Regions from separate parts of the Homo sapiens genome. Here region 1 is linked to region 2. Evidence: promoter capture Hi-C in 16 types of primary human blood cells and fetal thymus (Javierre and others, 2016). All regions are on one chromosome and are shown on one strand. Each heading gives the region's core, a stretch centred on a gene start or on the middle of the fragment in contact. The rest is flanking DNA. Distances are from core to core; before and after follow the strand shown. Region 1 overlaps ALAS2 (5'-aminolevulinate synthase 2). Region 2 holds the start of FGD1 (FYVE, RhoGEF and PH domain containing 1).

Region 1 (3,877 bases), core at 384-2,883, 520 kb after region 2:
TTGCACCCCAAAAATAGGTAAATAACTATTTATTTGCAAATGTAACGAGGTAGAATGGTACCAACATAGTTTCCACTAGAGAAATAATGAATTTGAATAGTCTCAGTGGTAGAAATATACAAAAGGGATAGGATAGTTTTACTTTATTGCTAGTGTTAGAAATGTGGGAGTGGGCATAATAGTAAGTTTCTTACATATATTAACTCATTTAATTTGCATACCTATTTAATTATTATCACTTACATTTTTCAAATAAGCAACTGAGAACTGAGACACAGAGCAATTAAGAAGCTTGCCCAAGCTAGTAAATGGTCATGCTAGGATTTGAACATGGATAGTCTGGTTTTAGAGCCTGTGTGTATAGTCATTACATGCCACTTAAGATACCTAAATCAGGGAATACTATGGACTCTTTTGTTTCAGTTGGAAAAGGGACAAACTGAAATGAGTTGAGGACCTCTTCCCTTAAATAAATCCATAAGAGGATGCCTAAAACACATGATTTCTACACAACAGGGCCAGCAATAGAAAGCTTTGGACATTGTTTCAATTGAGCAAAGAAAGGAGGTAGGAGTGTGAAGATCATTTAATTCTACTAAAGCATAATAACTAGAATGGTTTCTATCATCTCTAATTCTTACAACCAGATATTTTACCTTTGGGAAAATTGAGGCTTAGACAGTTAAAGAGTTACCCATGGTCATAGCCAGTAACTGTCAAAGGTGGGATTTGAACCCAGGTCTCTCTGACTTGAAAACCTGTTTTGACCCCAATGCTTCATACTGGACCTTGAAAAAAATCCTAGGCAATGGTTTTTGAAATTTCCTTCATAAAAACCAAACACTGGGATTATTGATTTACATATCATTTCTAACAAGAGAAGTGTTACTCGAGGAATTGGAGTTATATGTGTTAGGGTGCAGATACTCACTTTAGCACCAACTTGCTGAGCCACTCAAGATGAATTGGATGCCAACTCTGAACTTTAGTTTCTTTACCTATAAGATGAATGTAATAGCTGCCTCCATTCTTTGGCATTTACTAGCTGTGTGACCTTGGACAAATTACTCTTATGTCTCAGTTTCCTCATGTAAAAAATCAAAATAATAATAACACCTATCACATAGAATTGTTCAGAAAATTAAATGAATTAATACATGTAAAATACTAATAATTTTGCTTGGCACATAATAAACACTATAAATATTAGCTGTTATAATGTTATCGTCATCATCATCATCATGATCATCATGGTTTTTGTGAGACCAACACTAGTAAACATACACTCACTCATATACATACCATCCATGGAGTGGACAGTCTCAAAGGCCACAATTTTGGGTATCTTAGGGTTAGACTTCTCTAGAAGTTTCTTTAGGTGGTCAGGGTCATTGTGCCTGAAGACAAACTTGGCTGCTCCACTGTTACGGATACCTTGGATCATGGAAGCATGGTTGCCTGCGTCTGAGTAAATCTCGCACCCTGAGGAAGCAGATGTATAATCCTTAAGCTTCTGTCCCAGTACTCCCACTTCAACCTTCAGGTTTGACCTGGCAAAGAAAAGGGCCAACCCTTTCTTCCCTTTGAAGACCTTGCTCTGCTTCTTCCTTCTCTGGGAACTTTTGTGACACTTCTTTCTCCCTTGGAAGGACTTCACTGTTCCCAAATTCTGACCCCTACATCCTTCCCTCCAGTCATTTGTAACCCTGGTCTAGCCTCTGACTGCCTTGGGGTGGAAGAACATTTAATTTCCCAAGAAGCTTCAGAGTTTTTTGAGGACGGGACCTATTTTCCTTCTCCCCAATATATAAGATCAAGACTTGAAAAAGGGATTACCCCAGGGAATGTTTGTTGACTCGGACTGATGCTAGATTGTTCCTAGTCTAGATGAAATTCCATCCATTCCAGGTAGCATCTGCTTGTGGTTACAGGGATGGATATTTATCAGGCTTTTACTGTTGGAATCATAAGCTTATGGCATGTCAGAGCTGGCAGGGCTGTTAGTGATCATGGGATTCATCCCTTTACTATACAAGTGAGAAAGCTAAGGTCCAGAAAGATTTGAAGAATGCAGGGCTTTTTACTGGGCAATCCTGGTGGGGCAGGTGGGCATGTGAAATTGGTAGAGGGAGTTGATTCCTGGACCTCCCCAACCCCTGCCACCAACTGCACTGCCATCAAGGAACTGTGGCCTTATTATAAGATTAAGGGATAACTTCCACCTGAGAAAATGAGTTATGGCTTTCTGGAGAAAATGGCTTGAAAGACAAGCAGACTGGGAGTTGCATGGGAGCAAAAACATCTTATTATCTCTCTGTCTCTGGTGTCCAGTATAAGAGTAAGCACACAGTAGATGCTAAGTAAACATTTATTAAATGAATGGATAAATAAACTGATGACAGATTTATAAGTAAGTGAATGAGTATATGAATGAATGTATTACTGAATGAAATAGTGAGAGGAGGGATGCAAAAAGGTGAGACCGAAGAGATACATAGAAGCCAGATTATTGAGAACTTTAGAAGCTGTGATAAGAAATTTGGATTTGGTCCTGGGGGAATGGGGGTCCACTAAAGGGTTTTGACCAGGGCTGAGGGTGGGGTGACAAAGATAGTTTTGCATTAAAAAAAATTCTGACTGTTGTAAAGAATAGATTATCGGAGGGCAAAGGTAAAATTTTCTTTAAAAAATGATGTTGGATCAGGCTAGGATGCTGGCAGTAGAGATGGAAAGAAGTTTAATGGTTGAGGAGGGGATGGACTAAAAACAACTTAAAGATGTTGAGTTTAGTTGGGGCTTATGGGTGGACTCAAAAAAAGTTTCTGAGAAGTGGTGGTAATATTTTTGCTGTGCTGAAGAATCAGCAGGAGGTGAGGAAGTAGATAGTAAGAGCGAAGACTTCTCTCAAGCAGTTTGCCTGTTATAGGGAGGAAAGAGGGCAGTAGCTAGAGAGTGATCAGGGGTTGAGGCAATGTTTTTTTATAAGATACAAGAGACTTGAAAACATGTTTAAAGAGAGGGAGAGGCTGAAGATACAGGAGAGGAGGAGAGAGCCAATAGGTCAAGATTCCTAAGGTGGTAGAGGGGAATGGGGCACAGAGCAACAGTGGAAGGATTAGTCACAAGAAAAAGGATACTTCTTCCACTATGACAGAAGAGAAGGAGTGAGGAGAGGACATTTGAAGATGCTTATGAGTTTGTAGGTGCTTTGTGGCTGGGAGTCAAGGACATTGCTGTCTGGTATCTTCTATTTTGAATGTAGTAGAACATGAAGTTGTCTGCTGAGGGAGATGGGGAGGAGGGGGTGTGGGAAGGCTGAGGATAATGGTGGTTTGGCAAAACTGCCCCATAAACTTCGAGAACTGACCAGGGAAATGGGATTGTCAGAGACCATGGAGAACCCAGTAGAGGTTAAGAGTATGAATTTTTAGTGACTCCTGTCTGAGCAACTGTATGAGCCCGGAATTGATATAGTGAAGATGGAGGGTTGTATTCATTCTGGATTGGGCCTTGGCGGAAGGACAACAAGGCGTATGAGGTGAGGACATTACAGACTAGAGAGTAGGAGACTGGGAATATGGGAACCAGTGTACAAGTGAAGGGATTGGTTTTAGGCAGAAGGAGAGATATGCCTTCCATTGTAAAAGGAAAGAATGAGGCAAGGCTAGATAAACAATTAGATAAGTTCGTAGGTTTGGTGGCAATAAATAAGGATTCTCTGTCTGGGGCTTCTGTTTTTATTGTGAAGTAAGATGTGAGGTTATTTGCTAAGTGTGGAGGAGAAGGTAGTCAGAGGTTTTAGAAGAGGAGAAGAAGTTTGAAAAAGCTCCTGTGGAGACATAAAATAACTATGTATGTGTGTTAAGAGCTCAGTTGA
Region 2 (6,035 bases), core at 2,512-5,011:
ACCCTACAACCACTAACCCTGCCCTCTTAGGGCCAATTATAGGCGAGTCCCATGGAGAGAGAAGCCAAGTCACTTGTGCCTACCCCTGGGCCGGCTGGGCAGTGGGGGAGGTGGCCTCTCACAACCCATGCTGCAGTGAATCACATGGCCCGGCGCCCGCCTAGTCAGGGCCTGAGTAATTCCTCCGCCTCTTCTTCAGAAGGTTTTTCTCTTATTTTTTAACTTAATTTTATTTTTTTAAACTCCTGGTTGCTGAGGATTTATACCATGCTGCAGGCTTTACAACCATTAATTCATAGACTCCTCATTGCATTCTCTAGATGAAGAAACTGAGGTTCAGAGAAGAAAAGTCACTCACCCAGGGTCACAAAGTGAATTAGTTAGAATAGGAGGCCAGGTCCTTCCCTGACACTTGTCTTATTCCTAATCCCCATCTTGAATCAAAAAAAAAAAAAAAAAAGACACCCACTATGCAATTACAGAGGCAAGGACTTCGTTGGGGAAAAGGATCCTGGGAACTCTGTGTTGCCTTTTTGGGGAGGAGGAGAGTGGTTTAGGAAGGGTATTATGATTTGTAATTTGAATGAATTGGTGGATTGGGAAGGCATACTCAGAATCATCACCTTGTATTGATTACAGAGGCCAGAGACTGGGGGTCTAGACATTGCCCAGCTACTGACTTTCAGATCAAGAGTATCCAGAGGGCAGGAATTTGGTGTCCTTCTTTTAGGCAATAGTTACTGAGGGCCTACTATGTGCTTCTTTAGTATCTGTTTAGGCATTTATTTAATGAGGATTTCTTGAACACCTACTGCGTGTTAGGCACTGCGCTAGTTGCTGGGGATACAACAGTGAGCAAAAGAGATATAATCGCCTTGCCCCCATGGAGCTCACATTCTAGTAGAGGAAGATAGGCAATAAACGAGTAGACACATACAATAAGATAATTTCAGATTGTACTAAGTGCAAAGATGGAAGCACACTCACAGTCTCTGATGGAGACTCACAAGTGGCCCTACCTAAAGTGGTTAGGGACAGTCTCTTGGAAGAGGTGACATTTGACCTGAGACATGCAAGACGAGGAGCAAGCCAGGTGGAGGGCTAGGGGAAGAGCTTCCAGCCAGAAGGAAAAGCCAATGCAAAAGTCCTGGGGTGGGAGTGCTTGTGGCCTGTTTTGGCAGCTGCAAAAAGGCACTGGCTTTACACAGTGTCAAGGGGAGTTTGGAAAGCCAGCAGAAGTAACATGCAGGCCAAGGTGTTAAGGGCCTGTTGCCAGCTGGTTATCTTCAGCCCACACTGAGGGAGCCCCCTGAAATCTCCCAGAGGTTCCATGACTAGCCCAAGGTCATGAAGGCACCAAAAGGCACATCCTACCCATGCTTTATACTTCACTACTGCTACCTGGTGCAAGGCCACGGTCCCAGAGATCTGTGGAGCCTGAGGTGTGAACCCGGGAGCCCCCAAGGGCTTAACAACTCCTTCAGTCCCAGTGGAAGGCAGGGCAGATGTGCGCTGCTCTTCTTCTGTGGCTCCTGGGCTCAGGCCCGTATGAGAATGTCCCCAGATGGGGAAGGTCCTGCTGTGCTCCTCAGACACTCAGGTCTGTGTAGCACAAAGGCAGTGGTCTGTGGCCTCAGCCTGACTTAAAGCTGCTCCACCTTTTCAAATCCAAGAAACCATCCTGATTTCACATCACAACCAACCTCGTGGACCTGCAGCTCTCCAGCTCCTGCTACAACTGGCTTCTGCCTCTGTTGGCTTTTCTGCTGTCTCCCTACCTATCAGCCCCTCCAGCCTTCTCCTCTAGCCTGACTCCCAAGGCCCACCTCTTCCACCTTTCTCTCTCAGCACCTTCTACTCCTTCCTTCCCTTGTTCTCCCGCCACACACACCTGGCAAAATCTCAACCTTGGATCAATCCACCGTCTTTCTTTTTTTTTTTTTTTTTTTTTTTTTCCGCTCATACTCCAGGGCTGCTGAATAGTACAGGAGAAAATCACATAAGCAGAAGGCTTGGCATTACTTTCATGGTCTCCAGCCTCAGTTTGGGGAAGCAGAAAGACCACAGACTTTGGACACAAACAGATCTGGTTTGAATCGTGGCTCCATACTAGCTGTGTGACCTTGGGCAAGTTGCTTAACTTCTCTGAGCTTCAGTTTCCTTCCCTACAAAATGGGACTAATGGTATCTACTTCATGAGGGTTCCTGAAGCTGAAATGAAAATCCATGTAAAGCACCCAGTCCAGTGCCTGGTACAATGTAGGCGCTTGGCAAATGTAAGGCTCCTTTTTTTCTTCTGTTCTCCAAACGAAACCCTGGTTTCCCCAACCAAATATCCAAGGATTGCTGCCTTGCAATCCTCCCTCTTTTTCTCGCGAGTGCTCCCTCTCCCATTAGCCTCAGCAGACAGAGGAGAAGGGGGTTGGAGAGGTTGAGGGGCACAAGGGACAGAGAGAGGAGATGGGGACAGAGGTTGAAAGGACTGGACATAAGGCCAAGGGACGTGGGGAGGAGGAGGGGTTTGAGGGAACCCAAAGGGCCGAGGTAAGCGAGCCTGTTCCGAGGTGGGGCTTAGAGGGCTCGAGAACAAGAACCCGCTCCCAGTACCAGGCCCGTGGCCCGGGCTCCCATGCTCTCTCAGTCGCTCACTCACCAGGCCGAGGCTGCGAGCCCTCCAGGTGGTAAGAGAAGCGCAGGGCCCGGTGGTGCTGTGGACTGGGACCGCAGGGCAAGACCCGGTGGCCTGGAGCAGCGCCCAGGCTGGTGTCCGAGGGTCCGACAAACTGGGGATCCAGTGGGCCGCCAAGAGCCGAACCTGAGCCCCTGCGCGCCAGCAGTCCGGGTTCCGAGGCTCCAGGGTCCGAGTCGGCACAGGCCGGCGGAGCGGCGCCCGGCGGGTTCGTGGCCGGGTGTTCGGGCTCCGAAGGCCCGGCGCCCCCCGGGGCTCGGTGGCCATGCATGGTCCGGGCCTGGGCGCGGGGCCCGAGCTCCCCGCTTGGCTCCAGCTCCTGGGGCGGAGGCGCGGGCGGAGGAGGCCCGGCGCCCGGCGGAGCAGCGGCCTCAGGATCGGGGGGCGGGACTGCGGGCTCAGCCCCACTGCAGAGACTCAAGCCCCCAGCCCGGGCCCGGGCCAGCAGCCGTGGCAGCGGTGGCAGTAGCAGCAGCAGCAGCCGCGGCCACCGCCGCTGCCGTGCCAGGCATCGCCGGCCCCGGCCCCGGCCCCGCGCGGGGAGTGGGCTCGGCGGGGCCGGGGGCCCGCTGGGGAGCGCTGTCTATGCGGCTGCGGTTGGGCGAGGGTTGGAGGGCTACGCTCGGCGGGGACTCTCCGGTGGACGGCGAGCCACTTCCGTGGCCCCGGGGCGAGAAGTCGGTCGGATCCAAGTGCGGGGTCTCTTCTTTCTCCCCGAATGGGAATAGATCTGGGCTCTCCTGGCTGGTTGGGAAGCGTTCTTCCTCCCGCCGCAGCCGAGGCCGGGGGCGGAGGAGAGGGGAGGGGAGAGGAGGGGAGGGAAGAGAGAACGGCGGTGGCCGGGGGCGCGCGTGTGCGCTGCGCTTGGGCTGCGGGGCTCGCCTTCAGCCAGTAGTCCCAGACGATGCTCCAGCCGCGGGGGCAGGAGAACGGCCTGGGCCGGGCTCCACCGTCCTCCCCAGCTTCAGCCTGGGTCTCGGCGGCGGCGGGCGGGAAGGAGCCCTGGGAAGGGGGGTGGGGAGGCGGGAGCCTCGCAGAGGCAGCCGCAGCCACAGCGGCACTGGGACCCAGTTACCGGGGCCCCGCCCCCTCGCCCGGGATTTGCGCCTGACCACGCCCCCTCGCTCGGGGCCGCCTCACTTCTCGCTGCTACCGCTCTCAAGGCCCTCCTGCCCCTTAAAAAATTCCCCCTCAGCCTGCTTTCCCCACAGGCAAGTCTCCGGGCTCAACCCCCTCCCCCCATATCTGCCCTTCCATCCCATCTCAGGTCTTCCCCCCTCTGCTTGCCGTTCACTCTCTTTTCCAAAACCCTTTCTTCATGTTCCTGAGTGTTCCTAGGGCTTGGCTCATAGAGGACCTGTCTCTGATTCTCCTTCACTTTGCTCAGACCAGATATCTTGGTCCCTTACTTAGTCACTTTCTTAAATACCCTCAGTTCCCTGATTTGTCGCATCCGCCTGGCAACATCCCAGTCTTGAATCGGTCCAACTGTCCGCCTTTTCCATGCCTGCGCCCAGGCAGCTAAACATTGCTGGGGAAAACTATTCAACTTCACAGATTTGTGCCACTATAAACCCATGGTTCCCAGCTTCTACCAGGCCCTCAGTTTTGACCCACAACCCTACTAGTCAGCTCTCCCTCTGTTCTCCACAGTGACCATTTCAAACCTTCTCCTTTCCCCTCAAACCCCAAGTGCTCCATCTGCCCTGTAACCCTCAGCAAATAACCTGACCTGCTGCAGAGAGTAAACAGAGCCACCGTAGAGGAAGCTCTTGACTTTTTGCTACGAAGCCTAGGAATTTGTCCTTGCTCCTTCCCAACAGCATCTAAACATAGACCTCTTCCATCTAAAAACAAATAAACAATTACCAAGAATTCTGCCTCTCCAACCACCTCCTTCTCTTCTCTTCTACAAACTTCTCAAAAGAGTTGCCTACACCCAACTGTCTTCATTTTCCCACCTCCCACTTATCTTTCAACCCACTCCAATCTGCCTCCACTACTTGCTTGAAACTGCTCTCTCTCATCAGGGTCTGCCATGAAACATCTCACTAAATCCCATAGAATCTTTTCTTTTTTTTTTTTTTTGAGACAAGAGTCTCACTCTGTCGCCCAGGCTGGAATGCAGCGGCACGATCTCGGCTCACTACAATCTCCGCCTCCTGGGTTCAAGCGATTCTTCTGCCTCAGCCTCCCGAGTAGCTACGCCCAGCTATTTTTTTGTATTTTTAGTAGAGACGGGGTTTCACCATACTGGCCAGGCTTGTCTCGAACTTCTAACCTTGTAATTCGCCGGCCTCTGTCTCCCAAAGTGCTGGGATTACAGGCGTCAGCCACCGCGCCCAGCCCCCATAGAATCTTTTCAGAGGTTATCCTACTTGGTTTCTTGATAGCATTTGGCACTGTTGACCACTCCCTCCTCCTTAAACCACTTCCATGACACTGCACTTTCCTTGTTTTTCTTCTACTTCCTTAGTAATTCTTTTTTTACTTTCCAGGCTCCTCTTTGTCCAACGCTTTATGCTGGTGCTCTTCAGGGCTTTGGCCTGAGCGCTCTTGTCCTCTCTCTACATGTGATTTTTTTTTCTTTCTTTCTTTCTGAGACAGAGTCTTGCTCTGTCGCCTAGGCTGGAGTGCAGTGGCGCGATCTAGGCTCACTGCAACTTCCGCCTACCGGGTTCAAGCTATTCTTCTGCCTCAGCCTCCCAAGTAGCTGGCATTACAGGCATGCACCACCAAGCCCGAATAATTTTTGTATTTTTAGTAGAGACGGGGTTTTGCCATATTGGCCAGGCAGGTCTCCAACTACTGACCTCAAGTGATCCACTTGAGGAAAGAGAAGCCTCGGATTACAGGCCGCTCTTTTCTTTATCTCATTTGCTCCCCTGGCTTCAATGATCATATCTTTGCTGATGACTCCCAAATTGATACCTCAAAACCAGATATTTCTCCTGACCCATGCATTCAACTGGTTATTAGGCAGCTCTACCTGAATATCCCAGAGACACCTAAAACCTCAGCTTCTTCCCAACTCAAGGCATCCTCCTTCCAACCTGTTTGTCCTTCTTTGTGTCTTACCTTAGTGAATGACCCCAGTCAAAGCAGAAACCCGGGTTACACCCTTAATTCTTTTCTCTCCTCCATCACCCATGCAGTCACCAAGTCCCATCATTTTGACCTCCTACCAAATCTATTTATGTAGTCTCTACATTTCTGGGGCCACTACCCTGGTTTAGACCAGAACCATTTCTAACCTGCAATACTGTCACAGCCTCCCTATTTCAGTCTTGTTCTCTGGAATCTATTCTCTACACTATAGGCAGTGTATATCTTTTGAAAACATAAA

What was found. The method cuts DNA at HindIII sites, captures the fragments that hold promoters and counts their contacts. A CHiCAGO score of 5 or more calls a contact.
Region 1: a fragment that was not itself captured here is called in contact with the fragment with the promoter of FGD1 in region 2 in 1 of 17 cell types (monocytes); the score reaches 6.0 in monocytes.

Annotation. Positions count from the first base shown.
Region 1 is chrX:55,016,184-55,020,060 of GRCh38, forward strand. It overlaps ALAS2 (5'-aminolevulinate synthase 2), which reads right to left. Exons shown (of 11, transcript NM_000032.5): 7 at 1,303-1,482. Among named protein-coding and RNA genes, the nearest start is that of ALAS2, 13 kb to the right of the region's middle. The HindIII fragment of the contact is 250 bases long and covers 1,509-1,758 here.
Region 2 is chrX:54,492,473-54,498,507 of GRCh38, forward strand. It overlaps FGD1 (FYVE, RhoGEF and PH domain containing 1), which reads right to left and starts at 3,762. Exons shown (of 18, transcript NM_004463.3): 1 at 2,654-3,762. The coding sequence starts at 2,960. RefSeq lists a silencer at 3,825-3,874. The HindIII fragment of the contact is 12,526 bases long and covers 1-6,035 here.